Regions from separate parts of the Homo sapiens genome. Here all the other regions are linked to region 7. The links are contacts of gene promoters, found by promoter capture Hi-C in blood cells and fetal thymus (Javierre and others, 2016). All regions are on one chromosome and are shown on one strand. The core of a region is centred on a gene start or on the middle of the fragment in contact, and the rest is flanking DNA. Distances in the headings are between cores, read along the strand shown.

Region 1 (2,700 bases), core at 145-2,644, 2.3 Mb after region 7:
GCCAGTGTTGTGTTGCCTTTTCCTGGATGTCATATAAATGGAACCACTCAGAATGTAGCCTTTTTGTCTTGTTTCTTTCACTTTAGTGTAATGCTTTTGAGATTTATCCATGTTGTAGCATGTAGCCATGGTTCATTCTTTTGGTTGCTGAGAAGTGTTCCATTATATGGATTTACCGTAATTTGTTTATCCTTTCATTTTTTGATGGATATTTGGGTTGTTTCTGCTGTTTGGCTACTATTAGTAAAGCTGCTGTGAACACTCACATACAGATCTTTGCAGGTCTTTTACCAATTATGTGTTTTCAAATATTTTCTCCTAGTCTGTGTCTTATCTTTCAGAGAACAGAAGTTTTTAAGTTTGATAAAGTCCAGTTTTTTCTTGTTTTTTTGATTCATGATTTTTATGTATGGTCTAGAACCCAAGGTCACACAGATATTCTCTTCTTTTCCTTTAGAAATGTTATAGTTTTAGTTCTTTTCTTTAGAACTGTATACATTTTAATTTTTATGTGCAGTGTAAGAATTGAGGCTTATCTTTTGCATATAGATGTTCAATTGTTCTACTACGATTCATTGAGAAGACTATCATTTATCAATAGTCAATTTACCATAAATGGTAGGTCTGTTTCTGGACTCTATTCTGCTCCATTGATCCATCAAAGTGTCTTACTTACTGTAGCTTTATAAAAAGTCTTGATATCAGGTTCTAACTTTGTTCTTTATCTAAGTTATTTTGGCTATTCTAGATCTCTTGCATTTCCATATAAAGCTTAGAATCAGCTTGACCGTTTCTTTAAAAAAAAAAGGGGGGGGGGCGGTGGGGATGGAATTTTGACTGGAATTAACACCAAATTGATAGTTTAGGGAGAATCGCCATGTCAATAATATTGAGTCTTCGTATCTGTGAACATGATATGTATCAGGGGTTTTCTTACATCTGTTTAAAATTTCTCTCAGCAGTGTTTTGTAATTCATTGTACACATCTTGTACATATTTTATTAAATTTATTCCTAAACATTTAACATTTGTAAAGCTATTGTAAATGGTATTTTTTATTTCACTTTCCAATTGTTCATTTCTAGTGTATAAAAATAGAATTGACTTTTGTATATTAGATTTCTACCCTGTGATCTTAAATTCACTTACTAATTTCAGAAACTTTTTATAGACTCTTTGGGGTTTTCTTAGATAATCATGTAGTCTTCAATAAATTTGGGTTTTTTCCTTTCTAAACTATATGCCTTAAATTTCTTTTCTTATATTATTGTGTTATTGCATTGATTAAGCCCTTAAGCGCCATGCTGAATAGAAGTAATGAGAACAGATAGCTCTGACTTGTTCTGGATCTTGAAAAGAAAGTATAAACCATTCATTATTAAGTGTGATGTGAACTGTAGATTTTTTGGGGGTGAATCTTTTTAATAAGATTGGAGAATGTTTTCTTCTATTCCTAGTTTGCTGAGAATTTCTATCAGAATGGATTCTTTTTTAAGAGACCTGGTCTTAACTCTGTCACCCAGACAAGAGCACAGTGGTACCTTTATATGTTTCTCTTTCTTCATTTCTTTTATTCCGTAAGATAATCCATATATTGCTATGCATTTTAGTCAACATGTGATACTAGCTTGTATACAGTTCATTTTCCTTCAGTGAAAAAAAAAACTAGGGGATGGTAGCTACATGATATAGTGCTTCTTTTAGAAGTAATAAAAATGCTGTAATATTGACTGACGACGATAGTTGCACATATCTGAATGTACTAAAAACCATTGAATTCTATGCTTTAAACAGATGAATAGCATGGTATGTGAACTATATCTCAATAAAGATGTTTTTAAAAAGCAAAAATAAATGATGAAAGAGGTAAACAAGATGAAAGAACTATCTAAAAGAGACTCATATATAATCTAACTAGTACTTAAGTAGCAAAATAAATGCTCTATTCTAAAAATTCACTTTCTTTAATAGATAACAGAGCTGTTTCAGTTATCTGTTTCTTTTTGGGTAAGCTTTAGTAGTTCTGACACTCAAGCAATTTGTCCATTTCATCTAAGTTTCTGGATTTATTGCCATAAGTTGTTCATAATATACCCTTATGTCTTTTTAATATCTGTAGAACCTGTAGTGATGTGTCTTGGTGATTTGTGTCTTCATTCTTTTTTTCTGAAATAGTTTCTCTAAAGATTCATCAGTTTGATCTCTTCAGAGAACTAGCTTTTTGTTTCATTGATTTTCCTCTATTTTTGCTTCTTTTAATAATCACAACTTTATTTCTTTCCCTATGTTTGCCTTGTATTCATTTGTTCATCTTTTTCTGACTTCTTAAGGTCCAAGATCAGATCGTAGACTCCAAGACCTTTCTTTTCTCATCTAAGTATTTAATGCTATTATTTTCTTCTAAGCACTACATTAGCTGCATTTCACAAATTTGGGGTATTCTGTTTTTATTTTCATTCAATTCACAATGTTTTCTTAGTTTTCTTATTCCCATTTGATTTCTTTTTTTTTTTTTTTTTCTTTTTTTTTGAAATGGAGTCTTGCCCTGTCGCCCAGGCTGGAGTGCAGTGGTGCAATCTCGGCTCACTGCAAGCTCTGACTCCTGGGTTCACGCCATTCTCCTGCCTCAGCCTCCCAAGTAGCTGGGAGTACAGGCGCCCGCCACCATGCCCAGCTAATTTTTTGTATTTTTTTTAGTAG
Region 2 (2,700 bases), core at 166-2,665, 2.5 Mb after region 7:
CCACCTGAGAGGAGGTGTGAGTCACCTAACCTTTTTGAGTTTCTTTCTTCATTTGGAACACAGGTTGGTTAACACCTCACAAAATTGTGATAATTAAGTCAACCTGACAATATGAAAACACTCGAAACAGAAAAACACTAGAATGTGATTAGAATGTGATAACTTATATATAGTTCCTCTCTAAATTTAATATCATGATTGGAAACCAAGACTTTCAAATTCTTATGAAACATCAGTGATGTTAATAATTAGTCTTAGTCAGAAGTTCCAGAATCACTCAAGTGATGAGGGCCAGCTATTTTTGTGTTCAGTTTGATATGCAAAGCCACAAGTAGAATGCACTTGTTCAATTTTATGAGCCCCAGAAGACCAGTGGATACTGCTTGCTTTGGGAAACTGGAACCTAGATCTCAGCAGTTTCCATGGATTCACTTTATCCTTGTCAAGAGTTAATGAGATCAGAATAAAGCCAAATGAACATGCTAGGAACTTGGTGCTTTGCAAACCGTAATGATATTTGAGAGAGCCAGAAATAAAATCTTGTTTATTTTGTGTACAGGACTGAATTAGGGAAAGATTAGGACAATAGTGTGTCAGTTCTATCCAGGGGCTCAAATAGAGATTCTTATTTGGGTAAAAGTACACATGGATACAAGGAAGGGAACAATAGACATTGGAGCCTACTTGAGGGTAGAGGTTGGATGGAAGGTGAGAATCCAAAAACTACCTATCAGGTACTATGCTTATTACTTTGGTGATGAAATAATCTGTACACCAAACCCCTGCGACGTGCAATTTACCTGTGTAACAAACCTGCACAGGTACCCATAAACCTAAAATAGGTTGGAAGGAAAAAAGAAGGCAGAAAGAAGAAATAAGGGCCAAGGACTTGACTCTTTCTTAACCCTAGTTCTTTCAGGGTGGCTACTTTGAGTTTCTGGTTACCAGTACTGCGGAACACAAGCACGTAGACTTTAGAGTAGCATTTCTGCCCCCAGCAGAGATAAAGAGCTGTGTTATCTTGGTCAAGTTACCTTACTTCTCTTTGCCTTGGGTTTCTCATCTGTAAAGGGGGAAAATAATATAACTTACTTCTTAATACATGTAAAGCACTCCTAGAGGAAAGGGGATTTAAAATGCAGTGTTTAAAAGCACAGATTCTAAGGCTACACTGCCTGGGTTCAAATCCCAGCTCCAGCACCTATTTGCTGTATGATCTTGGGAAAATTAGTTCACTGTGCCTCAGTTTCTCATCTAAAACTTGGGTAATAGCACCAACCTCATAAAGTTATTGTTAGGATTAAATGAGTTCATACATGTATAGTTCTATAAATAGGGCTGGCTCATAGTAAGTACTCTATACATGCTTGTTATATTATTTGTTTCCTGGATAAGCTCCAAACACCATCTTAAGGGTATAGAAATATCAACATTGTTAACTTTTGTTTCTTTGTTTGGTTCTATAAATCATAAAAATCATACTCTAGAGATAATCATACAATGTTGGGATATTCTTTACTGTCTAGACCTGTTTTTTTTTTTTGTTTGTTTTGTTTTTTGAGATGGGGTCTCGCTCTGTTGCCTAGGCTGGAGTGCAGTGGTGCGACCTTGGCTCACTGCAACCTCTGCCTCTCAGGTTCAAGCAATTCTCCTGCCTCAGCCTCCTGAGTAACTGGAATTTAGACCTAGTATTTTGGCAGTGTACCCTATATAACATTTTGTTCTCTTTTCTTCAGGTTAAATATTGTCACATCTTTTACCAAATCTTTATTAAGATCATTTTGCCTCCGGATTCACTTAATGTTATTCAATTAATCTCTCCTTCTAAATGCAAAAAGTCAATGACTTCTAAAGCCTGCATGGAGAAAAGATTCACACATATTAGGAGGATGACAAATGGAATAAATATTTATTCAGGATAATTTCTGATTCTGCCTCTCTTCCCCTTTCCCCATAGTGTTCATTTTAATGTTTCTGCCATTCATTTGTTCATTCAGTATTTATTGGGAAGACTTGTCAAGCACCATGATAAGTGGTGGAAAATAATGATTCTGACACTTGAATGGTGTTTTACAATGTACAGATCATTTTCACATATATTAAATTCATTCAATTCTCAAAGGCACTCACTTCATTTCACCAGTTCTTCCTCCCCTTTAACTTTATATTTCTCTTCATGTTCCTCATTCCTTTCCTTAAATCTTTGGTATGCAGAATACAGTAGTCTCCTTTCATACAAAGGGTATACATTCCAAGACCCTCAGTGGGTGACTGAAACCGTAGGTAGTACTGAACCTGATTGCTGTCCATTGGAACATGTTTCTCTTCATGTCTTCAATCCACAAGTTTAATGCCTTTTCCATTTTCACTACACACTTATCATGCACTCTGTGCCATACGTTTTGTGTTTGGAGGTGTGACAGCAAAACTAGCACAAATTTTTCCTTCATAATTTCACAGAAATTTCACAATGTCTACATTCTTATCATAGATCTTAGCAACCTTGGGATGTAACTTTTTTTTTCTTATTAAATTGAGAACTTTCACCTTTTCACTTAAAGGCAGCATTTTATGGCTTCTCTTTGGCATATCTGAATTGCCAGCATCACTACTCTTGTAATTTGTGGCCATTTATTAAGTAAACTGAGTGTTACTTGAACACAAGCACTGTGATAGGGTGATACTAAGACAGTTGATCTG
Region 3 (2,700 bases), core at 192-2,691, 2.3 Mb after region 7:
GCTAGTCTGACAAGTGTGATTCTCATTGGGTTACTATTACCCCTTAGGATCAAAATCCAGGAGGCTGAGGCAAGAGGATGGCTTCAGCCTAGGATTTTGAGGTTACAGTGAGCTACGATTGTGTCACTGCACTTCAGCCTAGGTGACAGAGCAAGACCCCTTCTATTTAAAAAAAAAAAGTTGATGAATAAATGAATTCATTAAATCAGTGGTTCTCAATTGAGGGTGATATTTGCCTCTCTGTTGACATCTGGAAATATTTGGAAATAACTTTGTCACAACTGGGCTAGTTGAGTGGGCATCCTAGTGAGTTGAGGCCAGGGATGTTGCTAACCATCCTACAGGAGGCAAGACAGCCTAACAAGGAATTACCTGGCTCAGGGTAGCCATTCAATTAAAGATGTCATCTTTGCTTTCTTCTTTGGATTTTCTTGTGTTGCTTGAATTCTTTCACAAGCAATTTTTTTTTTTTTTTGGTAAAAAGTCACTTTTTAAATTTGTGTAATTTTTTTTAAGTTAGTAGAAAACTTCCTCTGAAAACAGAACAAATGTCTGTGCTTTATAGTAACACCATATATAAAGTGAATTAAGTTAATGTTTCCCTGTATTCTAGTCATTCTGGAACCAAGCAACCTATACTAACACCCAGGGACATTTACTGCCAATCAGTTATGTACAGTATTTATAGTCTATTCAAACAAGAATGTACATAAGCTTAGAGAAGTGGTGAGTAAAGAAAACACCTAGGCAGTTAGCCGTCTATTAGAAAATAGATAATTTTACCAAGGGACACAGGATTTCAAACCTGGCTTGAATGATGGAAAAAACTCCAGAACCAACGGTGAGCAAAAATATTCCAATTTGAATTCAGGTGACAGAAAAAGGAGCTCACGAAAAGAATAGTTTCTAAATTTGTTTTAGAGAAATAAGAAAGAGAAGGGATTTCTCTTTTTTTATAAAATGTGTCAATAAAGGAAATTGTATAGCTCTCTTAATAACTTTGTAAGTATTTTTAAATGTTGCTTTAATAAATAGAAAAGCTGTTAGTTTACTTAAGCCTGAATAAAACCATTAAGTTCTTTTATAGAGTGTAAATACAACACTGGTGCCAAAAATCAGTTTGTTACCTCTCATGACACCTTGATGCAGCCATCCTCCAAGGGCTTTGGGCAACATTTCCCAAGAGTGAGAAACCTCACAGAACACTGAAGACACCAAAAGAAAACTTTGGAACCAAATTTTGCTTCCTGTTTTATTAGGTTTTCATGTGTACATATCCATTTTCTTTCTATTTGGTGCACTTACGATTATATCTGACTGTTTTTCCTGAATATTATGATACATGAATTCCACCCCAGTGCTTTTGATTCTAAAAGGAGCTTGGAAACCTTTCTTCTTTTTCATTTAAAATACAAAGTAGATTTAAGAAAACCATAAGTTTTAAGGTACAATGCTGAAATCAGTCAAAATGTTACTGCATTTGAAAAGATCAAATTATGATTTAAAGAGAGATTATCAATTTGGCTTTGATTTTGTTTCTCCACATGAAATATTGAGTCACATATTTTGCATCATTATAAGTATAGTTACATTTCATTCAGCTCTTCTGAGTTTGTATCTGTTGCATTGTTCCATGTACAGTTTAGAAACCAGTCCCATAACTGATACTGATCTTGCAAAGAGAACTGTCTTCCAAAGATCATACTCAGTTGTTGCTTCCGAATATGATAAACAACACTCCATTTTACCTGCACGAGTTAAAGCTATTCCTAGAAGAAGAGTTAACAGTGGAGACACTGGTAAGTATGAGGATAAAAAAGAATATTGAGTGATCTGACTACTACAAATAAAAAAATTGTTTTATTTGCATATAATTTTTAAAATTTAATTTTTGAAGGAAAAGGCATGGGATAATTTCTAATGTGTGATTGACATTCCTTCTATATGACATAGCTATAAATGTGCATCTCTAAATTTTGCATCTTAGTTGAAGGGAAATCTGGAGATCATTCAGTGATTGTTCGAGAATAAATTGACCTTTACAATCTTACTTGTTAGGTATCTAAGCCAAATGTTACAACCATTATCCCTTCCACTAAACTTTTGTGGACCAGGAGTTCCAATGACGTACACATTCACAGTTATCTCTCCACCCCAACTGAAGCTTGATAACTCTTGGAGCTGCCATCATTCTAAGTAGATAATAAAACTTTGGGGATATAAATAGCCCTTAATCGATTTAAAAAAAAAAAAAAAACAGTTACATGATCTGGACCAGTTGGTATCAACAGCCCCAAATTGGAGCTGGGGATTCTACCTCAAGAATAATTTTAAAAACCCAAGAAGAACAGGGTAATATAGTGATCAATTATCAGAGAGATCACTTGCTAAAATGAAGATTTGGCCTAAAAATTATAGTCAGATGATTAAGTTATCTTACTGAAGACTTTTAAGAAAAACATTATTGAAGATTGTCCAGCAATTTATAGGTTCATTCAACAAATATTTTTGACCTCCTGTTAAGAAATGTTTCTTATAAAGCCATCTTTTAGAAAATGATGCAGATGAGATGTAGATTTCATTTAGAGAAAATATAAATCACTTAGCTTTTAGAGTGTTTTAGAAAAGGTGAACTTTAGATTCAGCTCTGATTCAAAACCCACCTCTACAACTTAATAGCTATATGACTTTCAGAGAGTA
Region 4 (2,700 bases), core at 200-2,699, 2.3 Mb after region 7:
GACACTTCCTCCATTCTACCATGAGAGAAGGCAGGGGAAAGTAGGTTTATTAATCACATTGCAACTTTGAGGTTGTATCTGATTGCTTATTGTCTCACAGAAGAAAGAGGTGAGGTCATGATCACCTGAGAGTTAGGAAGAGAGGTGATGCAGGTTTGAGGTAAGAAAGAAGTGAAATTCAAGCATTTTGGAGAGTAGGCAAGCGTACTATGGCAGGGTGGTAGGATTGCCAGGAGGTATGCAAACAAATTAAATGTTTGCTGAACTATCGTAATGATGTTGACTGCTTAACCAAAAGTAAAATTTCCAATATCCATCTTATTTCTTTTCAGACCCAGTGAGAATATGCTGATCCGTGTCAATAATGATGGGACTTATTGTGCAAATTGGACTCCAGGGGCTATTGGACTCTACACTCTTCATGTTACCATTGATGGCATTGAAATCGGTATTTTCTTTAAAGCCATGAGCTACTACTTACTTCAAATAACTAGAGTCAAAATTATTTTTATCTTCTAGTTTTGCCCATTAACTTGCACTAGACATATGGATAGGTTTCATAACTTATTTGAGGCCTTGTTTTCTCTTTCATAATGAGTATTTAATTAGTGCATTAACATTTTGTAATAATTTCTGGTGTCCGCCCAGGCACTGTAGCCCTCATGACTCTCTCCCTCCATTTCCTGATGTTACTAGTCAGGTGTGCTCTCTTCCACGCTGCTGTTACCCTGTCTCTCCCCTGTGGGTGTGTCTGTGCCTCTCCTGACTGTGAGCAGAAAGCATTCATGTTTGGATCTTCCAGTGTAGCTCAGTGCCTGGCACATAATGACAGCAAATATGGATGAATGAATGCATTTTTAAATCGATCATTGTGTTAATCTGGGTTCTCCAGAGAGACAGAACCAATAGGATATCTATACAGTCATGTACCTCATAGCATTTTGGTCAGTGACGAACAGCGTATATAATGGTGGTCCTATAAGATTTTCCTGTACCTTTTCTATGCTTAGATATGTTTAGATATGCAAATCCTTACCATTGTGTTACAGTTACCTGCAGTATTCAGTAGGGTAACATGCTGTACAGGATTGTAGCCTAAGACCAATAGGCTGTACCATATAACCCAGGTAATCTGTACCATCTAGGTTTGCTTAAGTCCACTCTGATGTTTGCACAATGATGAAATTGCCTGGTGATTCATTTCTCAGAACATTTCCCCATCCTTAAGCAATGCATGTCTATATTAGATATATGAGAGGATTTATTAGGGAAATTGGCTCGCACAATTATGGAGTCTGAAAAGTCCCATTATGGGCCACACCTGCAAGCTGGAGATCCTGAGATGCAGGTAGCCTCAGAACCAGGGAAGCAGATGATGTAACTCTCAGTCTGAGGCCAAAGGTCTGAGAATCCAGGAGGGCCACTAATAATAAGTCCTGGAGTCTAAATGCTGGGGACCCTGGAGTTCAAATGTCAAGGGACAGTAGAGGAAGTGTTTATCCAAGCTCCAAAAAATAGAAATACATTCACCTCTCCTCTGTTTTTGTTTGCTCTGTGTCCCCAGCTGATTGGACAGCGCCTGTCCACATTGAAAGCAGATCTTCTCCACCTACTCCACTCACACTCACACGCCAGTCTTGTCTGGAAACACCCTCACAGACGCAAAAGTAATGCCTTACCAGGTTTCTAGGTATTCTTTAATCCAGTCAAGTGGACACCTAGAAGTAATCATCACAACCATTAACTTTGAAAAACATATTTCTTTTGTTTTAGGCATTAATCTTTTCTTTACTTTTAAACTGTCTGTATAATAGGATAACAAGGAGAAAACTCTAGTACTTATCAGTGTGAATTTCTTGTAACATTATTTTTCCTGATGCTCCTCAAGGAAAGGGGTTTCTGTGATCAGATAAATTTCGAAAACCTGGTTTGGGATGAGTATCTTTTATCTGAAATGCTTGGCACCAGAAGTATTCTAGATTTTGGACTTTTTCTGATTTTGGAATAGTTGTATTACAGTTACCAGTTGAGCATCCCTAATTCAAAATTTCAAAATTCAGAATGCTCCAGTGAGCACTTTTTTTGAGCATCATGTCAGCACCCAAAGGTTTTAGATTTTAGATCATTTTGGATTTGGGGTTTTCAGATTAGAGATGCTCAACTTGTATATGGTAGTCTCACTTGAGACATTCACACAATCTACATTAACATATTAGGGATTCTGAGAAGTTCTGAAATCAAGAAACTTGTCTGACTATGTTTAATCCTTATCGTGGGACCCCTTGCAAGTGGAGAAGAGAGAAACAGGGTGGAGATAGTAATAATACCAATTAATATTTCACCAAAATATTTGGGAAACCCTGCTTTAAGTAGTTTGCTTTGGCAGTGGAGGTAAAGAGGTACTTTACATTGATGTAATTGTATGTTCTCATACATTAATGTAACTATATAGACTCAGATATATCCAGTTCATCTGTACCATTCTAGAGACCTTCACCAGCAGCCTTTGCTGCACTCTTCTTTATTTCAATATATTCATAAAGCCTTTAGTTCAGCAAATGTTTTTTGGTTCTGAGCATACATTTTCCTGGGTAAGACAATTCCTGTCAAGTGTTAACACTTTAATGAGGATTGTGAAAATAAAACACGCAAACAAAAATCTTATGAAGTAGAATATAAGTAGTGACACACAAGACATAC
Region 5 (2,700 bases), core at 87-2,586, 2.2 Mb after region 7:
TTCGGGAGAAAAAAACAAATCAAGTGCCAAGGGTGCGGAGGATGGCTTGCAGAACTGTGGCCATTTAAATTGCATCTTGAAAGAATTTGTTTTTCTTTTTTTGCCTGCTAGAGAAAGGGGAAAGACATTTCACAAAGGATGTATAGTTGTGTTATAAGAAGCAGCAAAAGGTGAGGTTGGTACAGTTGGTGAGCTCAGTCTGTGACAAACCAGTATGTCATATTAAGTGGTTAGGGCTAGTTGCCTGTAGACAATTGGGAGCCATCATTTGTTGTTTTTATTATTGTTTGCTTTACCTTTTTTGCTCGTTTAGGCATTAACTAGCACATTTGGCACTGAATGGAAATACATGAGTACTATATTTCAGTGCAATACCCCCTTTGGATCTGTTACGTCAACCTAATATTTCTCAAAATTGCCTAGAGATGACTACATTGTTTTCTTACTTCATTAGTCTGACTTCAGCTAGCTAGTAATCTGTAATAGGATGGAAATATCAGAATCTGTAGACAGCATTTGTCAAATTGTAATACCTACTTAGGCCAAACCAGAGTTTCTGATGTACTGCTAAGTGAGCCCCATTGGATACCACACACTGAGAACATCAGTGATGGGGAAAATTTTGCATCTAGCAATGGTGTGAAGATAGAAGAAAAGTTGAGAGTCTCTCAACTGGATCAGTGTTACTCAGACCCTAGGATGTGATAGATTTGTAAAATTTTCCAAAAATATTTTTCCTGAGAACTTATTAAGTAAAAACACTCTTTAAAAATGTACTACTTTTTATCAGCAATGTCTTATAAAATAAAAGACATTTTAATAGCCCCAGATGGAAAGGTCTTAGAATGGAAGACTCTGTTATAGCCTTAGTTTTTCTAATTCTGCCATGGATCAGAGAACTTTGGGCCCACATTTGGAAAACACCAATTTAGATCATACTTATTTTCTATACTAGGTATATGTAGTTAGTAATAGTGATTTAAATAATATCTGTAGAGCACTTCATAGGTTTCAGCATCTTTAATATTATCTCTCTGTTTTTATAATTACACTTCGAAATCAGTATTAGGTCTTGCATCTTACAATTATAATAACTGAAGTTCAAAGAAGTTTTGTGACTTCTTGAAGACTCAGAAGGGAAACAAAGGCTGGTACCCAGACCTTGTAATTGTGAAGGCTAGTGCTTTACATTTTACTTATTTCCTGAGGTGAATTAATCAAAGCGGTAATAATGAAAACATTTATTTCATCTTTGTCAAGCACTATTTTAAACATTTTGTGCATTTTTAACTCCCCACAGCAACCCAATGAATTAAAAAGTTTTATCTCCATTTACAAATGAGGCATAGAGCATTTAGGCAGTTCGCCCACGATCATACAGCTAGTGAGCAACTGCACTGGGATTTGTTCGCTGGCAGTTTGGTGACAAAAGAAACCCCGTCTCATTAGCTGGGCGTGGTGGCGCATGCCTGTAATCCCAGCTACTCAGGAGGCTGAGGCAGGAGAATCGCTTGAACCCGGGAGTCGGAGGTTGAGGTGAGCCAAGATCATGCCATTGTACTCCAGCCCAGGCAACAAGAGTGAAACGCCGTCTCAAAAAAAAAAAAAAAAAAGTTTGTGATTTTGAACACTGTCTTCTGATCATAGGGAGCTGTAGTGTTGTCAATAATGTTAAGAAACGTCTGAGTTTTAAAAAGCCATTGGCATCTTATGTGTATTCCTTTTTTAAAGTTAAATCTTTGTACCTTAAGATTCAAAATAAAAATAAATTCAACAGATATATAATAAACAATATGTGTCAGGCAACATTCTAGGTGAAGGAGAACTATCAAAGAGTTTCTATTAGTCCATTTTCACACTGCTATAAAGAACTACCTGAGGCTGGGTAATTTATAAAGAAAAGAGGTTTAATTGACTCACAGTTCCCTACATGGCTGAGGAGGCCTCAGGAAACTTACAATCATGGCAGAAGGCAAAAGGGAAGCAAGGCAAGTCTTACATGGCAGCAGGAGAGAGAGAAGGGGAAAGGCCTACACACTTATCAAACAACCAGATATTGTAAGGAAAACAGCAAGGGGGAAGTCTGCCCCCATGATTCAGTCACCTCCCGCCAGGTCACTCCCCCAACATGTGGAGATTTATAATTCGAGTTGAGATTTGGGTGGGGACACAGAGCCAAACCATATCAGAGTTCATATATGGTTTATAATTTCAGGGATTATTATGGTATATAAGGTGTCATCTAGACCAGATATGGAGAGATCTTTATTATGTTATTGTTCAAGAAAAAAAAAAATGGTGTCCCAAATTGCCTCTTTTTGGCATGTAAGGTAGTTATTCTGATAATCTAACATGTATTAAACACTTACTATTTGTTAGGCAATGTATTATATACTTTATATGCATTATTTAGTTTGAATTTTTTAACTGTGTAAGAGAGATTATTTGATGACCAGTTTATACATTTTACAGATTCAGGGATGGTAACTTTTTAGCTTAAGAGCACACAGCAAATAATTTGTCCAAAGCCAGGATTTGAATTTAAGTCTATTTGATTCCAAAGATGATTATTTTTGAAACTGTATAATTTCAAATTTGATAGTACTAGAAATGTAATTATTTTCTATGAAAAAATCTTACTGGAATTTATTTTATAGTCAGTAAAAAGTTTTCAGAGTTCCAGCATTTAAAACAAGTCTC
Region 6 (2,700 bases), core at 96-2,595, 2.2 Mb after region 7:
TAGATCCCCTTCCAAAGTTTACTAAAGAGTTCTCCCCTTTAAACTTACCTTTCCAATGAAAAGGAATACCAAAAGTTACAGGGTGCCTGGTATACAACTTTGGGAGTTCCCACAGGTCCTGGCTTAGAGATGAATATTTCTTTCTCAGAGAAGTTTGCAATTTTTGTTAGAATCATAAACTTCCATTTTTGTATCTATTTAGTCTCCCAAAATTCTGTAGCCAAGTTAGATTAGAAGTAGGCTTTGTAAATAAAAAGAGCGATTTCAACCCAAAGTAAGTTCTCTAATTCTCTCTAGTGAAAGTCTATAATTAGTATAGTTGCACATGTGTATGTGTACGTATTCAAATACTGAATGCTGTTACAAAAATATCACTGTATATATTCGTAGTATTCAATCTTAGGGTATAGACCATTTTCTTCAAATGAAGTTTTACTTGCAAATTCACAGGTAAGAGGAGAGAGGACATAGTCTGGTTGAAGAGGGGAACCATAAATTTACCTCTTCCTTGCACACCTATCTCTGCAGAATTTCTAGAGCTCTGTGTTGCATAGTTTGAAAACTGTTGATCTATAGAATTTCGATGAAATTTTTAGCATCTCTTTTCAAAGTCTGATGATTTATTCATACATTATGACTGATAAGACAAGCTTGTACTTCTGACATTATAAATTAAGTGGAAAGTATAGTTTCATATGGCTAAAGGAAGAAAATACTGTCAAGTGACATTGATTTGTGAATTTAGAATGATAAAATCTGGTTTTATTGTGAGTTAATCTCTCAGTAGAACATACCTTTAGGAATGTTTATATCCACTTATTAAATAAAGGTTATTTTATTAGACTTCTTAGAAACCTTTGGATGGTTTTGTTAAAGGTATACCAACTACTGATACAATTGCTTTTATTGTTCACAGGTTGATGGACTTAATTCTCTTCACTCTGTAAAAGCTAGTGCTAACCGATTTACAAAAACAAGTCAGGGCAGAAGTTGGAACACTGGGAACGGGTCCCCTGATGCAATCTGTTTTTCAGTAGACAAACCTGGAATAGTTGTGGTTGGTTTCTCTGTCTATGGAGGAGGTGGAATTCATGAATATGAATTAGAGGTGTTGGTTGATGATGTAAGTATCACCCTTTTAGTATTTATCCTGATTAGTGGGTTGTGTATCAGGATTTACCATTGTCATAGTATGTTCAGGGGTTTACTAGATCAATCACTGATGAATGACACTAAAGAAATTGAAAAAGACTGGCCACAGTGGCTCACACCTGTAATCTCAGCTCTTTGAGAGGCTGAGGCAGTTGGATGACTTGAGCACAGGAGTTCAAGGCCAGCCTAGGCAATATGGCAAAACCCTATCTCTACGAAAAATACAACGCACGCCTGTAATCCCAGCTACTCTGGAGGCTGGGGTGGGAGGATCACTTGAGCCCGGGAGGTTGAGGCTGCAGTGAGCCATAATCATGCCACTGCACTCAAGCCTGGGCAGCAGAGTGAGACCCGACCCTGTCTCAAAAAAAAAAAAAAAAAAAAGAAAGAAAAGAAATTGAAAAATAATGATTTTACCTGATTGTTTGTGTTCCATCTTTCCACCTTGGGTCACTACTGCTTCATATTTTTTGTACTTTCAGAAAGAGAAAGATTTAAAGTAGAATTAAAGACTAAAAGTGTTTAGCTAAGTCCCTGATGACAAGTCTTGAGTAGTTTTTTTTTTTTTTTATATTGTCATTTTTCAAGAAACACAATGTTGAGATGGACTATGTCATAGAGTACTAATGGGTGATTCTTAGTGAAGACACTATTTGTTGACTGATTGAGCTATATCTTTCTATATTCTCTAAAATTAAAGTACCTGAGTTTTATTAAAATGGGACAGATGGGGTAGCATGTAAATCATTGCCTATTAAATAGCAAGTCTATCTCTATCTCTAACTTGATTCCTTTCACTAGTTAATTTGAATTTATTCCCTACTTCATTAGGCTTTATAAATGTGAAGAAGTAGAAATAGTTTAAGTCATCAGATGAGAAAAGCTTATTTATGTTGTAGTCTTCTCAAGAAATCACATAAAAATGTATATAGTACCCCCAACTTTTTCTTTCATATGTATGGGAAAATACTAATGGCTAATTTTATATTCAAGAAAATAAATTTTAAAAATAATAATTATAAATCAAAATTGTTCATACAATAAAATTAAGAGTCTGTTGGAATTTTTGTGTTTCATTTTTTTTTTTTAGAGTGAACATGCAGGAGATTCAACTCATTCCCACAGATGGACATCTCTGGAATTAGTGAAAGGAACGTACACAACGGATGACTCACCCAGTGATATAGCTGAGATCAGACTTGACAAAGTGGTTCCTTTAAAGGTAGTTTCAACTGAATGTTTCTATTGTGAATAAGAGGTATTATTATGTAGTTAAAATAGTGAAGAGTATTCCATGAATTTTGTTTGTTACCTATAGCTATTTGTAAGTTATCCTTTATATGGTACTTAAATATTTATGGAGTACCTACTACGTACCTAATGTTGTACCACATTATATTATATTTTTGCATAATGTTTCTTAAAGTCAGGAGTAGTAGGAAGTTTTGTAGTCAAACAGACTTAGCTTTGGATACCTGCTGTTCCACATGCTGACTTTAAGACACTGGCAGATCATTATTTAACCACTTTGAGACTTATCTGTAGATT
Region 7 (2,700 bases), core at 80-2,579:
TAAGTATATGGTCCACTGCATTAAGTACATTCATATTGTGCAACCCACACAACACCACTCATCTCCAGAATCTAAATCATCCTAAACTGAAACTCTATTATCCACTGAAATATAACTCCTCATTTCCCCTTCTCCTGGGCACCCTCTCCACCCCTGCTCTTGCTACCATTCCACCTTCTGTCTCTAGGAGTTTTGACTACTCTAGGTACTTAATGTAAGTGGAATCATAATATTTGTCCTTTCATGTCTGGTTTATTTCACTCAGCTAAATCACTTTAATCAACACCCTGGTTATTCAGTAGCTGGATTCTAATTTGTATTCTACTCTATATGCTGTATTTTAAAACAAATGTCTTGCTTTGTAGTTCATAATCTTTCCACCTAATCCTTAAAGACACTTCACTCTAGCAAATTATAAACTCAAGAGTTCCTAAGAACAATTTAGCCTATCGGTGTCTCTCATAAAGAGCTTTTATTGATCTACTTACTGAAAATGTCTTTAGATTGTGAATATTTTCATTCCATTACAGTTCATGGAACGTAGACCCTTTGTAAAATTCCACCTAGTATCTAAATAGAACTCAAGCAGGAATCAAACTTATTTGATCACCCAGGAAAATAGTTTATTTATTTGGGTTGCTAATATGAAGACTCTCTCTTTTGATACTATATAATTTCCCGATCTGAGATAGGGCTGAATTTGCTCTAAATAAAGAGAATTTTAAAAATAACAAAACTTATCTTTAGCTGGGGGAAAGTGCAGGCTGGAAACTACCTGAGAGACGTGAAGGTTCTCTCACCTTTCCCTTGTGGGCAGCCCTCAGTCATTAGGGCTCTACCAGCAAGTCAAGTACTGTTGGACAAGACACTAATCCTCTGGCGGTCTCATTGGGCTCCATTAGACCAGCCTGTGTTTACAAACCTCGTTCACATCACAGCATACACAGAATATGATACTGGTAGGGCACTTAGGTAAACTGAGGAGGTAGTGTGCTCGGCACCTGGAACCTACGGGCCGCCTGGTGTCGCGCACGCGGGAGTGTACGCTCTCAAAGAGCGATCCATCCGGCAGGACCGTTCCAGCTGACAGGCCACGGCCGTCTTACCGGGGACGAGCTGGGGTTCCCGCTGTTTCTGAAGTCAGCGGTCTTTTCCTCCTTGTAAGAAATAAGGTCTTTATATCATAAAGGTAAGCAAAGAATAAAAAGGCACAAAGGCCGCAAGCAACGCACACACGCAAAAATCGAACTACAGCACTCGACCCGCGCATTCTCCGCCGACCTTACGTCTCTCCCAGCAGGCTCCGGGAGCCACCGCGAGACTTCATCAATTCTCGCGAGATTTACCGGCAGCCATCTTCTTGGGGGTGCTGGGAGCCGGGAAGACCCCCTGAATCGTTCCCATTGAGCTGCCCTTCGCCTTCGCTTTCTTTACTTTTGCCTTTTCGACGTAGCCAACAAGCACCTGGTCCCGAGGCTGAGAGAAGGCTCGGGTCTAAGCGCGTGTCGCGCTTCCGGTCTGGGTAGATTTGCTGGGGAAGAGGGAAGGGGGAGGGCCCGGGCAAACCGTTGCTGTTTCAGCCCGGGCTGGGGGCCGGGGACGGGGAGCTCCTGGCACCCCGTGCACTTGTGGCCTGCGGCGGTCCTTGCAGAGCTGTTCGCCGACCGGGGCCCGCGGGAACCTGCCACCGGCGCCTCCCACCGCGGCCCACGCGGGCGGCGCGCGGAGGAGGGGGCGGGGGCAGCGGCGGCTGTAGCGGCCGCGACCTGGGCGGGCGGAGGAGTGTGACGGGCCTTAGGGCCGCTGTGGATGGTTTCTAAAATGATCATTGAAAACTTCGAGGCACTCAAGTCCTGGCTCAGCAAGACTCTCGAGCCCATGTGAGTATCCGGGGGATATCTCTTTGCAGGGATGGCAGTGGGAGATAGGCGGACCCAGAGATCTGTGCAGTTTCCCCAAGTGCCTGCGGTGGAGGCCGAAGCGGTGAACGGAGGTCCCAGGGTTCTGTGGCTTCTCCTCCTCGTCCACCTCGCTTCCAGATTCAGGATACCCCCGAGAGCCTGAGTCGAGCTTTATTTTATTGCTGAGCTGCTCTCGTTTTCCCGTTATATATAGACCGTCTCCAACCCCCACCCGCAATATTTTCCGGGGGCCTCAAAATCGGTTTATTTTAGTGAAACCGACTGTATTTTACTTCCTACAGATTATTTTACCTTGTTTTTCTAAATGAAGTAGACGGCCTTTATTGGGGATTCGGGCAGTTCTAGCTTAAATCACTCACGTTTCACCTAAATATAATTCCTGAAAGCAAGGCCACGTCTCCCATGTGCTGTCTGGCTCATCTGCACCTCTCTTCACTGATTGAAGATGTAACAGGTGCTGAGGTGGCCAGTAAAATTCCCCTTTCCCGCCTACGCGTTCGTTAGCTTGGAGAGGAGGAAGAAAATTGAATCTTCATCCATATGGAATATTTAGCAGTTTTAAGTGGGATGCTATAGATAGATTTTGTGTTGGGGGCTGCGGTTAGAGTGCTGAAATAGTCTTAGATTGGAAAATTTAAGGAGTGTTTTGACGACTTGTTAATACAAAATATGACATGGACCAAAGTGCTTAATCAGAATTGGTTGATTTACAATAATGCAATGGGGAAAATTCACGTATTTAATAAAGTTATTAGGTACCTACTGTATACTACGGGAG

The links. The method cuts DNA at HindIII sites, captures the fragments that hold promoters and counts their contacts. A CHiCAGO score of 5 or more calls a contact.
Region 1: a fragment that was not itself captured here is called in contact with the fragment with the promoter of RBM26 in region 7 in 5 of 17 cell types (naive CD8 T cells, naive B cells, total B cells and 2 more); the score reaches 9.5 in naive CD8 T cells.
Region 2: a fragment that was not itself captured here is called in contact with the fragment with the promoter of RBM26 in region 7 in 1 of 17 cell types (total CD4 T cells); the score reaches 5.6 in total CD4 T cells.
Region 3: a fragment that was not itself captured here is called in contact with the fragment with the promoter of RBM26 in region 7 in 1 of 17 cell types (total CD4 T cells); the score reaches 10.0 in total CD4 T cells.
Region 4: a fragment that was not itself captured here is called in contact with the fragment with the promoter of RBM26 in region 7 in 1 of 17 cell types (naive CD8 T cells); the score reaches 6.0 in naive CD8 T cells.
Region 5: a fragment that was not itself captured here is called in contact with the fragment with the promoter of RBM26 in region 7 in 3 of 17 cell types (total B cells, total CD4 T cells and naive CD8 T cells); the score reaches 9.2 in total B cells.
Region 6: a fragment that was not itself captured here is called in contact with the fragment with the promoter of RBM26 in region 7 in 1 of 17 cell types (total CD8 T cells); the score reaches 7.1 in total CD8 T cells.

Annotation. Positions count from the first base shown.
Region 1 is chr13:77,072,120-77,074,819 of GRCh38, reverse strand. The region is part of intron 68 of MYCBP2 (MYC binding protein 2); the gene reads left to right. Among named protein-coding and RNA genes, the nearest start is that of MYCBP2-AS1, 2.0 kb to the left of the region's middle. The HindIII fragment of the contact is 1,241 bases long and covers 774-2,014 here.
Region 2 is chr13:76,890,320-76,893,019 of GRCh38, reverse strand. No RefSeq gene overlaps it. Among named protein-coding and RNA genes, the nearest start is that of KCTD12, 5.3 kb to the right of the region's middle. The HindIII fragment of the contact is 8,198 bases long and covers 1-2,700 here.
Region 3 is chr13:77,089,205-77,091,904 of GRCh38, reverse strand. It overlaps MYCBP2 (MYC binding protein 2), which reads left to right. Exons shown (of 83, transcript NM_015057.5): 60 at 1,642-1,799. Among named protein-coding and RNA genes, the nearest start is that of MYCBP2-AS2, 9.4 kb to the right of the region's middle. The HindIII fragment of the contact is 1,450 bases long and covers 717-2,166 here.
Region 4 is chr13:77,142,193-77,144,892 of GRCh38, reverse strand. It overlaps MYCBP2 (MYC binding protein 2), which reads left to right. Exons shown (of 83, transcript NM_015057.5): 49 at 333-448. Among named protein-coding and RNA genes, the nearest start is that of MYCBP2-AS2, 62 kb to the right of the region's middle. The HindIII fragment of the contact is 6,140 bases long and covers 1-2,700 here.
Region 5 is chr13:77,158,979-77,161,678 of GRCh38, reverse strand. The region is part of intron 44 of MYCBP2 (MYC binding protein 2); the gene reads left to right. Among named protein-coding and RNA genes, the nearest start is that of MYCBP2-AS2, 79 kb to the right of the region's middle. The HindIII fragment of the contact is 9,980 bases long and covers 1-2,700 here.
Region 6 is chr13:77,176,171-77,178,870 of GRCh38, reverse strand. It overlaps MYCBP2 (MYC binding protein 2), which reads left to right. Exons shown (of 83, transcript NM_015057.5): 35 at 917-1,123; 36 at 2,243-2,374. Among named protein-coding and RNA genes, the nearest start is that of MYCBP2-AS2, 96 kb to the right of the region's middle. The HindIII fragment of the contact is 1,385 bases long and covers 653-2,037 here.
Region 7 is chr13:79,404,884-79,407,583 of GRCh38, reverse strand. It overlaps RBM26 (RNA binding motif protein 26), which reads left to right and starts at 1,329. Exons shown (of 22, transcript NM_001366735.2): 1 at 1,329-1,880. The coding sequence starts at 1,810. RBM26-AS1 (RBM26 antisense RNA 1) reads right to left here and starts at 1,275. Exons shown (of 7, transcript NR_038991.1): 1 at 1,107-1,275. RefSeq lists enhancers at 1,044-1,343, 673-1,664 and a silencer at 1,574-1,773. The HindIII fragment of the contact is 7,810 bases long and covers 1-2,700 here.